Regions from separate parts of the Homo sapiens genome. Here region 1 is linked to region 2. The links are contacts of gene promoters, found by promoter capture Hi-C in human tissues and cell types (Jung and others, 2019). All regions are on one chromosome and are shown on one strand. Each heading gives the region's core, a stretch centred on a gene start or on the middle of the fragment in contact. The rest is flanking DNA. Distances are from core to core; before and after follow the strand shown.

Region 1 (5,399 bases), core at 1,788-4,287, 210 kb before region 2:
GCTCTTTAATTATAAATGTATGTGATTTGGTCTTTATATAAGAATCTCAAATCAAGGACTTCTTCGGCACGCTATATATAGTACCTTAGATAGTGCTAAACACACGTGTGTCTGATTCTTATTGAAACAGGAAAGAAATCCAGTCCAGGTCCTACTACATTAGTCCAGGAAATAGATGTGACTCAAGATTCCCAGAGGATTCCATGACACCAGCTTAGGTCTGGGACAAGATAGTGAAGTGGTTCCTTCCTTGAGCAATAGCACAGTGTTTCTAGGAAGAATTCTGAAGCTGGCTGGTTCCCTCTCAGTCCACCTTGAACATCTGGACAGCTTCCCCTTTCACACTGCCTCATCTTCCTCATTCTCCTGACCATGTGTCCCACTGTAAACTCCTTTGAGGGGAAAGATCAGGTCGGGTATCCTGTTCTTTTTCCAACACCTGACACCCAGGGTTCTCTGTGCAAAGTAGGTGCTCAAATATATGTTTATTAAATAAATACATTTATATAACTTTGGCTGAATTGACCTCTATTAATTGAAATGGGTCAACCCTAATGATAACATTACAGAGAATATTAAGATATAGAGCAAGCTTCCATTTATGGTATGAGAGTTTACAAGAAACTGAATGTGAAAATGGTTCAATTACAAAGAAATAAAATGAAACACAATAAAATAACATTACATGATTATTCAGCAGGCACTGGCTTTGGGCAACAATCCAGCCTAGTTTTATGACTATAAACATTGATTATCATTGCAAGCCTATCAGACTGTGAGATCCTTGAGGGCAAGAACTATATGTTATTTATCTTTGCAGCTCAGTGGTCGGCACAGTTTGTGGCATAAAGTAAGTTCTGTCCTTAGCAGGTCGGAAGAGAGAGGGGAGGGGAGGGAGAGGGGGGAGAATGGAGAGTGGGGGAAGGATAGACAAGCTAACTATGGCTGTAGAAGAATAGCTGAATCTTTGTTTACTTTATAAATATAGCATAAAATGTCTTTAAATATAATTCCAGTCAGCAGTATAAATTTAAATTTCCAGAGAACCACAGAACTTTTGAAAAATCAGGGAGGGCCTGAATCCAGTCGTAATCTTCTCACTCACCATCTTCCCAGCTTTGAGGGAGTCACTTAACCTCACTGTGCATTAGTTTTTCCATCTGTAAAATGGGTTTGCATTGCTTGCCCTGCTCCCTCACAGAGTGATCCTGAGAAGAGATGAACTGAGGTGGGTGGGAGAGCCTGCCTGCAAGAAAGGGCTCTTCACACGGAGGAATCACTGTGCCTCAGGAGGAGTGGCTGCACACAGTGCTGGGACTTTGGGGGCAGAATTTAGAAAAGTTTCCATTTGTCCAAAGACCACCCCCCTTTTTTGAGAATTGACTAGTTTTGCACACTCTTTCCCGAGTTTTAAACAATAAAAACCTTTTGTCACAAAACACTTAATTAACATAGCCTTTCAAAACACAACTTGGAAAATGCTGGTTTAATTGGAGAATGATTTAAGTAAACCATGTAGTTAACTTCCCCTTGCAGGTAAATTCCCCAGACTCAGTTTCCCCATCTATAGGGGCTGGACTAGACTTAGGTCCCACACAACTTTAAAATGTTCCCCCTCGACTTTAAAAATGTTCCCCCCCAAGTCCTAGAGGCTCTTTCCTCAGAGACTAAGGGATGGCCTAGGGTGACCTATTCACTCACATTTCCTGGATTTAGCATTGAAAGTCCTGCGTCCTGGGACAGATGGACGCCAGGTGGCCTCGCTGGCAGCTCAACTCACCCACAGAACATGAGGATGTTATACAAGGTGGGGTCGTCCGGGAAGGGCGCCATCTGCTGGAGGCACAGCTGCTCACAGCCGCCGTTGAAGCCGTCGGAACAGTCCACCCCGATGTGGCGGTCATAGCAGCCAGAGCTGTCCTTCATGGGACTGAGTCCAGATGGGCACTGGCACAATCAGAAAACATCCACATACGTGGGTGAATCGGGGAACTGAGTTCTCTGGGAACTGAGTGTAACCACTGACACCAATTTGTAGCACTCAGCCTTGAAACTATTAACATTCGCAAGTAATCCATGAATTTCCTACCACAGCAGACTTCTTTTAAAAACAAGTGACCTTTTTTGACGTCTTTCTTCTTCTCTCTAGACACTGATCACACACATTTGCATTAAAGACACTTCCTCCAAAAAGGCTGGAAGAGAGCACTGTAGCAAGACACAGCCGAGGTGTACTGGCCTCCCAAATGGGCCTCTGGCTGGCAGGAGAGTGGAAGTGATGGGCCAGAATGAAAATGCATTTGCAAAGATTCCACTGGGCTACAGGAAGGAAGTGCTGCTCTTTGGCCTTGGTGGTACTATGAGTTTTTTAAGTGTCTAAAGCCCTTTGTCAACAATGGTACCAAATAGCAGTGTTGGGGGGAATGGACTGAGCCAGGGCTTCCAGCCTGAAGGAGGAAGTGAACATTCCCTGTAAGCTTAGAGGGGGGTTGCTCTCATAGTGGGAGTAGCTGTGTCATCACCTCCCTGTGTCAGGGATGCTCTTTGGAAGACACCTAAGACACAAGGGTACCTACTATATGGTCACCCACAGGTGCTGCACTTGGATTTGGCTGGATGCTTTTAATGCAAAATATTTAGCTTTTCAGCACTACCTTGTCCTCAGTAATATACTCCCCAAGAATTATAGCAAAGAGAATATCTAAGAAGGGATGTCTTTTCCCAGGAGAAGACAAAAGGACTTGGTGAGCAATTACAGCACTTACCCATCACCTATTATATGCCAGGCCGTGGTCTAAGGTGCTCACTAACTCATGTGATCCTCACAACACCCCCAGGAGGTAAGCAGTATGATCATCCCCATTTTGCATATGAGGCAACTGAGGCACAGAGAGTTTCACTTTCTTAAAGTCACACAGCTGCTCCTGGCAGAACCATGCTTGAACCCTTTGTAGGTTGGCTGTGGAGTCCGTAACTTAGCTGCTTCATCATTAGCACACACCACACTTAACCGTTTACACAGTAGTCACCGTTTACTGAACACTTATGAGGAGCTTGGCACTATGCTTAAGTACTTTAGGTATTTTATCTCACAATACCCTATATTATCCCTATTTAGAGGTAAGGACACCATTAACATTGCCAGTTAATTCACAAACTCTTCTCACTGCACTGGGCTCTGTTTCAAAGTCAATGACTTTTTTTCCCCATCCTGCACCTTCTGCTTGTGCAACAGATTCTGTACATTTGCATTAGAGCTAATCCTTTCTAATAGGCTGGAAGCAGGTAAATAACTTGCACAAGGTCAAGCAGCAGGAGTCGGGCAGAACTGGGGGTCTGTCCAGATCTGACTCCAATGCTGGGGCTTTTAATGACTATGCTGTATACATATCGCCAACAAGTTAACACACTCCTCCAAAACCAACACCAAACTAAAGCAAAACTTTCTAAACTCAATGAAACACAGTGTTAAACATCTCCCCTCCCTCCCTACTGCCTGGTTTGCACTTTCTCTTTGCTGCCAAGCACCTTGTCTTAGTAGCCCACAGCTGCTGCAGGTGTGCCTCTGAAAACTCACCTCTCCTTCCTCCTCTTTCTTAGTTGAAGATCATCACCAGGCAGGATATGCACTGTTTGCTAACACTAATTCTGTAACTTCCCAAACAAATGGCCCCCTGTGGGCCTGCCAGGCTCCCAGCCTGGTCCATCTCCCTTTCTCCCCATGAAGGCAGCTGGAGTGCTGGAAGGTGACAGCATTTAAAGAAGTTTCCAAGGGCTGCCTCGTGCTGTGCAAACCCAGCTGTTCCAGATGATGGTAAACAAGCAAATGAGGCAGCTGAGGATTGCCCCCCATGTTTTGCTAGCCTCCCACTAATCATATTCCTTGGCCACCCAGCTGTTAGGCCAGATGTGCCACCAGAAGGGAGCTGGCTTCAGCACTGTGCGGCTGCCCAGGCATGGATGCAGGATAGAAACCTGGAAGACATGGAAGTTTGATTGGAATTGAATGGGCTGCACTGGTTGCCATGAGTTTGGTTTATTTTTCCCTCCTTCTAGACAGCTTGCTAGAAGCCATTAAGCAGATAAAGTCAGTCCTTCTTTTATTCCCACCTCATATGGTTTCAGCCCTTGTACCACCTAGCTACCTCAGTCACTAGCCAGTAGTTTCCATCTTTCCAACCACCCGCTTTTTTCAGAGTTCTCCTTCAAGCATGATTTTTGACAAAGACTTTGTTGAATGAAACATGAGCAGGCTTTGTTTCAGAATTCCAAAACCACATCTTGCCTGGCTTTAACGTCTAGATGACCACTGCTATCCCAAATTGGACCAGCTGAAATTCATACTCTCTTAGGCAACTTGCAGAAAAGACAGTTAGCTGTCTTGTCCAGGTTTTTTATTTTTTTACTTATCAATAAAGCCAAAAATAGTATTAATAGCTATCAGAAATTAAGCAATTCTTTGTGTAGAATGGTCTACATATGTTATCTTCAACCCAATAACACAGGTACATTTCATCTTCTACAATTTAAAGATGAGGAAAATTAGACTCAGAAAGATGAGGTAACTTGTCTAGGGTCCCAGTGGTGGAAAATGGCATGATCAGACTTCGGGCCTAGATTGTCTGTCCTGAAAGCATGTGTGTTTTCCATCTACTCCGCCATGCTGCTTCTCTAGTATGATAAAATCTGGATTCATGAGAATCCCTAAAGAAACAAAGTCAATGTGTCAACAAAGCAAAGCAATCCTGTAGATTTGGTGATTGCTTTAAGGAATTCCCAGAGTGTGTTCTGGGGTCAATTATGGATTTGTAGATTCAGCCTAGTATTTTCTTTCTTTCTTTTTTTTCTCTCTCTCTTTTCAAACACACAAACACACACACACACACACGCACATGCATGCATACACACACATGAAGTACCAAAATACTGAGTGTAAATATTTTAGGACAAAACATTATAAAGTGTCCAGAGTGACGACCTTGATGGCGAGTCAAGATCCTCAATCACTGAAAAAGATGCAATTATCCCTACTGCACTGGAACTTGCTTAGGCTGCAGTTCAGAGTAAAACATTTTAGAAAGATTTCCAGAAAAAAAAAAGGCTAAAACCCAAAATAATTTTCTTCTTAACCTTTGGGAACCCGAACACACATTCTTTAAGGAGTTTCCTAAGGTATAAATTTGTTTTGTTTTTTGCCTGAATCTTCTTTCTGCTGTTGCATCCACATTCTGGGTTCCCTCAAAATCTATAGCTAAGTACAAAGAAACCAGAGTCTCCAAACCATGCCCTTCATCCTAGAAGTGTTTGTTGCCAGAGTCCTGTTCTCAGAAAGAAATCCTGCCTCCAGGAGAAGCATGCATTTTCTGTTTGCAAGGGCTGGATATTCTTTTCTCCTGGCT
Region 2 (5,006 bases), core at 1,036-3,535:
TAAATGCCAAGTTGCACCAGATTACCATAGCAACCCCAACAGGACACTGCAGTGGGCAGCTTTGCACAGAGGTGCAGAAAACCCGTTCTTATAACATCTGGGCTTTCACTGTGCACATTGGTTCCTAGTAGGCACATCACAGCATTAGGCCCTGGTTTTGGGATTCTGCAAAAAAGAAATGAAATGTTGAATACCTGCTAGCCCTCCCTTTTTTTAAGCACCATGCTTGTACCTCTTCATGCACAGTAAACACTACAAGCAGAGTGCAAAACAGCCTCTTTAGAAACACATAATTCCCTCTACTCACTTTTATATACTATGATGAACAGATTGTACTTTGCATATCAGCATGACTTCAACGTGAACTTTCCATCCTCCAAATAACCCAGTAATTGTACATTTTGATGAGCGGCATATCCACAATGCTCCCATTTCCAGCTAGTCCCCAGTTTTTATTATGTTATTGGTATTTTTGAAAGCAAAAATAAATAATCCTATCAAGAGCATAGGTTGGGTTTAATGGGTTCAACTGAGCTGCACTCCGGGAACTATAAAGCAACTTTTCAAAGGGCCAGGCAATTTTTGAAATTGCTTTTCCCTAAGGGTTGGGGAGTAGGGGTTTATTCACTCACTTCCTAGTGTTTTCAGTGTGAAGACATCTCCTATGAAGGAAGAGCAAGAGGGATGTGTTAGAATTCCACATGTGGCTCTAGCCTACATGTGGCCATCAGGAAACCATGTTTCTGCAAATGGAACTGTAGTTGGTAGGGTATCAAGTAAATGGAACAGCCTCCTAGACATTTTCTTTTTTTCTCTACTTGGATCTAGAGACTGAAGTGTGGTTTTCTTTGAATTTCTCCTGGGCAAAATAAGAATAATTGGCAACATCACTAAAGAAATGGATTGCATGGTAGGCATGCACAGCAAGGTGAGAGCTCCATCTACACATGGAGAAGTGAGGGGAATTTGGCAAAGTAACATGAACTTGTGGTGCTTTGCAAGATACTAGAGCAGGACCACAAAACCTTTGCAGCTTAGTAGTGGAAAACAGGGATGATTTGAAGTAATGTATGGGTTCCAGTACCTGAAGTGACAGGAGTTCCACTACCTGAAGGTGACCTAAGAAAATTACAGTGGGAGTACCAAAAAGAGAGAGATGTAAACAAACAAAGGAAGGAAGAGCCCCTTGCCTAGAAAGGTCATTCTGTGTGCAGGAATGCCTACGCCTATCTAAGGTGGCCCTGGGAACAAAGAAGAGACCAATACTAACAGACTACAGTTGTATAATATCTTTAACCAACTGTGACGTGACATGGATGTGTGGATGTGGTTGAATTAGGGGGTTGTGACATCTAAGCATGGAGGTAGGACTTCCCAGAATGAACAGCTGGGGGATAAGAAACTTGAGTGTTTGGAAGGGAGGGTGTCAGTAGCCTGGTGACAGATAAAGGGCTCTCCATGAATGAAGACTAGAATCTGGCTTGCACATAGCTGGCAAGGTGATGACAGGATACCTGTTTCTAAAGCCCCCAGGAAGTGCTGTAGGTGGGTGTGGGTATCCAGAGTGAGTGAAGCAAAGAGCTGAGCATGTGGCTAGGGAGTGGGGAGAAGGGATTATGGGAGTTGAACTGGTAGCAGACAAAAAGTGCTGTGTGGATGTGCTCCTGAATCAAAGCTGGGAGGTCAAGGCTGGGAGAGGTTTCAGAGAGACTCATGCAACCTGTTTCTTTGAGGCAGGGCAGCTGAGAGGAGGCTCAGCATCCAGGTCGGATTTGGGGAGAAGTCAGGTGCACAGAGGCGCTAGTATGCAAGTGGGTGTGGAGAATGGTCCGGGAGTGGGGCGGATCCGGGAGGTAGGAGTGGGGGAGGGGAGGTCGTCGGCGAGTGGGTGTGTAGAGCGAGCTGGAGTGGGGGGTGGGGGCGCCGGTCCAGCGCCTCCGGCCGCCTCGACCTCCCCCGGGACTCACCCAGCACGAAGTAGGGCAGCTCCGTGTTCTCCAGGTCGTCCACCACGACCATTTCTCCCGGGAAGTCGTTGCGCACCGAGAAGAGGAGCTTGGGCTCCGAGGCCGAGGGGCTGTGCATGATGCTCAGGTCGTTCTCGCGCAGGAAGGGCAGTGCCGACACCGTGATGCTTTTGAGCTTGCACTCCAGCTCCTTGGATGGATCCACGTCGCCGGCGGCCGTGGCCAGCACCGCCGCCGGCCCCCAGCAGCAGGCGAGCAGGGCGCAGAGCCCGGCTAAAGCCATCTTGAGCCCCGGCCGCCTTCCTCCTAGCGCTGCGATGGTGGGGGAGGAAGCGAGCGGGGAGGGAGCGAGGGAGCGAGCGCGGGAGGCGGGGGAGGTTAGGGAGGGGATGGAGAGCCGGGAGAGCCCTGGACCCCGGAATGAGATGCCGCTTGCAGAGTCCTGGGTTTAAGCTCTGATGTCTGGAGAGCCCCGGATTCTTTGTTTCCCGGAGCTGCTTATCTGGAGAAGGGAAAGCGGGGGAGGGGGGAGAGGAGAAAAAGGGAAGGAAGGACGTCGAAAGGAAAGAGGAAGGGAGCTGAGGATTCTAGGGAATCAGGTCAGCCCCCAGCTGGCTGCCGGTGCTCCTGCCTCTCTCCTCCGTTGCATCCTCCAACACGAGCAAGGCTCTTGGCTATGAACTACCTGCACGGCATTTTTAATACATTGATCTTTGCAATGTAAAATCTTCCCTCTCGCATCATCATCCAGAAGGCTTGAGAGAGGCACACACAGACATACACCTTAAAGGGCGCTTCTGCAAAGCTGCGCGGTGAGGGGAGATGAAAATTCCCCCAGTGGTTTTGTGGATGTATTATAGCTTGTCCGAATCTTGCTTCCACCCCGCCCCGTCCCCCACTAGTTGGATTTGTACATAGGATAAACGGGAGCTGGGAATGCACATGTGCATATTTTTACTTAGCACTAACTTTGCAAAATATTTAAAGAAAATATTTGTTATACTGGTTTAGATGGATGGATAGATATGCACAACAGAGTAAGGTGCACAGTTAAGCAGGAGATCGAAACTTTTACTCGCAACTTCTCTCTGCTTCATTTCATTTCTATCACAAATTTTATCTGTAGTAACCAATAAAAAGATGATTTGGGGAATATTATAGCTGATAGAAAAAAAGTAGGGTTAGCTCAAATAAATCTTGAAACTTTAATTTTAGACAATCTAGTAAATAGGACAAAGCTGGAAAGAAATTGTGAGAAAAACCAAAGTTCCTAAGCATTCTTAACAGATGGAAAAGTAATAAAAGAATATCCTTGGGTATGAGCTAAGTCAATCCCAATCCAGTCAAGAGTACAACAGGGAAGATGTTCAGCACCCTGCGTAAGTATTCTGAAGAATAACACCACCACCACCACCACCAAAACCCATGTAAGATCTGTTCCCAGTAGTGCTCAACAATGTTGCCTTTTAAAAATGATGACAATATGCAATAAACAGTGGTAGAAAAGTGACATTGTGTATTCTGAAATCTGACATTTAACTGAACTTTCTCTCACATGATAACCAATAACTTATTTCAAAAGTGTGTCCCTCCATTGTTATTGGGTCAATGCTAACTTCAATACTAGGTGCTGTGAAGACTGTGTTATTTGTAGTTCTCACTCTAGAAATTTAATGCACTACTGTTCTAAAAGAGGACCCCTACTTAAGAAACAATTACATTTTCATTCTACCTGGTGTCAGTTTATTGGCATATGTGAAAATATGTTCTTTAAAAGACAAAAAAGCTTTTGCCATATATTTTACAAAGTTTATCTAATTGAATAGAGAAAATAAGCCATATTTAAGGTAATGTTTAAGTAGTGAAAGATCATTTACCACATATGCAAAGAAAAGAAGAACAAAGACACTTTATTAGTTGAGTTTTTATATGTAACTTATCTGGGAATTAACCCCAAGTTATCTTACCATGCAGCATTGCAAACTACTGTAAACTACTGTAAAAAAGATGTACCAGCTAACGACTTTTGAAAACTCATCCTGATCGTCATTGCTCCCCTAAGAGATACTGAGTGAGACAAAAACCCCATGATATCTCTTTCATTCTGTTATCCCTAGCATAAACAAAAATCTAGTATTAAACTTACTTATGCAAGGTTATTTGCCATTGAATAATTATAGTGGATGTCAGGAACACACCCTTGATACTAGAATGTGAGAAATGGCATGTAAGTACCTGATCATGTATTCATCCAATCTCTCACTTAACAGATAAGGAAATTGAGACCCATTAAAGAGTGATCTATCTTCTATGGAGCTAAGACCATGAACAAGATTTCTTTGCCCACTGCTCTTTCCACTATATGGTTATGGTACACTAGGGTGCACCCATGGATAATCACTGGGCTTTATGGACCACAGTAATTAATTCAGCAAATGTTTGTGTACCTACTGTATCATAAGCATTAGGCTAAGCACAGCCAGAAAAATACTACTCCTGCTTTTGAGTAGCATATAATCTACTGTCACTTTGAAATCTTTCTTTCTAATTTTCTGAAGATTCTTGAGTCATGTTAGAAAGCCCAAGTAAACCATTTAGGGTTGATTTTCCAATAAGTCAATATCTAGTCTTCTTAAAATGTATATTGAGTTGGGCATAGTTGGTAGTTGGTATCTCAAGTCTTTCTAGACCTCTCTAAACAAAACCAAACAAAAGAAACAGTAGAATTTTTTAAAAGAGAATATATTATTCCAGAGTACTTGATTCCTGTAAAAATGGAAATAATGTCACATGGCCCTTTCTTAGGGAATTAAATACCTAGAGATGTGGGTAAAGGTTGAAGTACATGGAAACCAGGCCATCTCTAATGCATGATGTTTTACATTTAGAGGAGATGGGGGAAAATGTTATGCATCTCAATCATCACCTTTGTGTAGAGGCATAATGATATAGTGAAATAATAGAACTGGATTCAAGACTTAACTTCATAATATTCTTATTTGGAGATAAGCTTGGACCATTCTTGTCTTTAGTTCCCCA

Evidence for each region. The method cuts DNA at HindIII sites, captures the fragments that hold promoters and counts their contacts. A contact is called where the count stands out against the background at its distance.
Region 1: a contact is called between a fragment that was not itself captured here and the fragment with the promoter of ASTN1 in region 2, in 2 of the 25 tissues and cell types used here (H1 embryonic stem cells and heart left ventricle).

The regions. Positions count from the first base shown.
Region 1 is chr1:176,947,405-176,952,803 of GRCh38, forward strand. ASTN1 (astrotactin 1) reads right to left here. Exons shown (of 23, transcript NM_004319.3): 12 at 1,781-1,947. Among named protein-coding and RNA genes, the nearest start is that of MIR488, 79 kb to the right of the region's middle. The HindIII fragment of the contact is 8,935 bases long and covers 1-5,399 here.
Region 2 is chr1:177,162,427-177,167,432 of GRCh38, forward strand. It overlaps ASTN1 (astrotactin 1), which reads right to left and starts at 2,286. Exons shown (of 23, transcript NM_004319.3): 1 at 1,968-2,286. The coding sequence starts at 2,250. The HindIII fragment of the contact is 7,081 bases long and covers 1-4,365 here.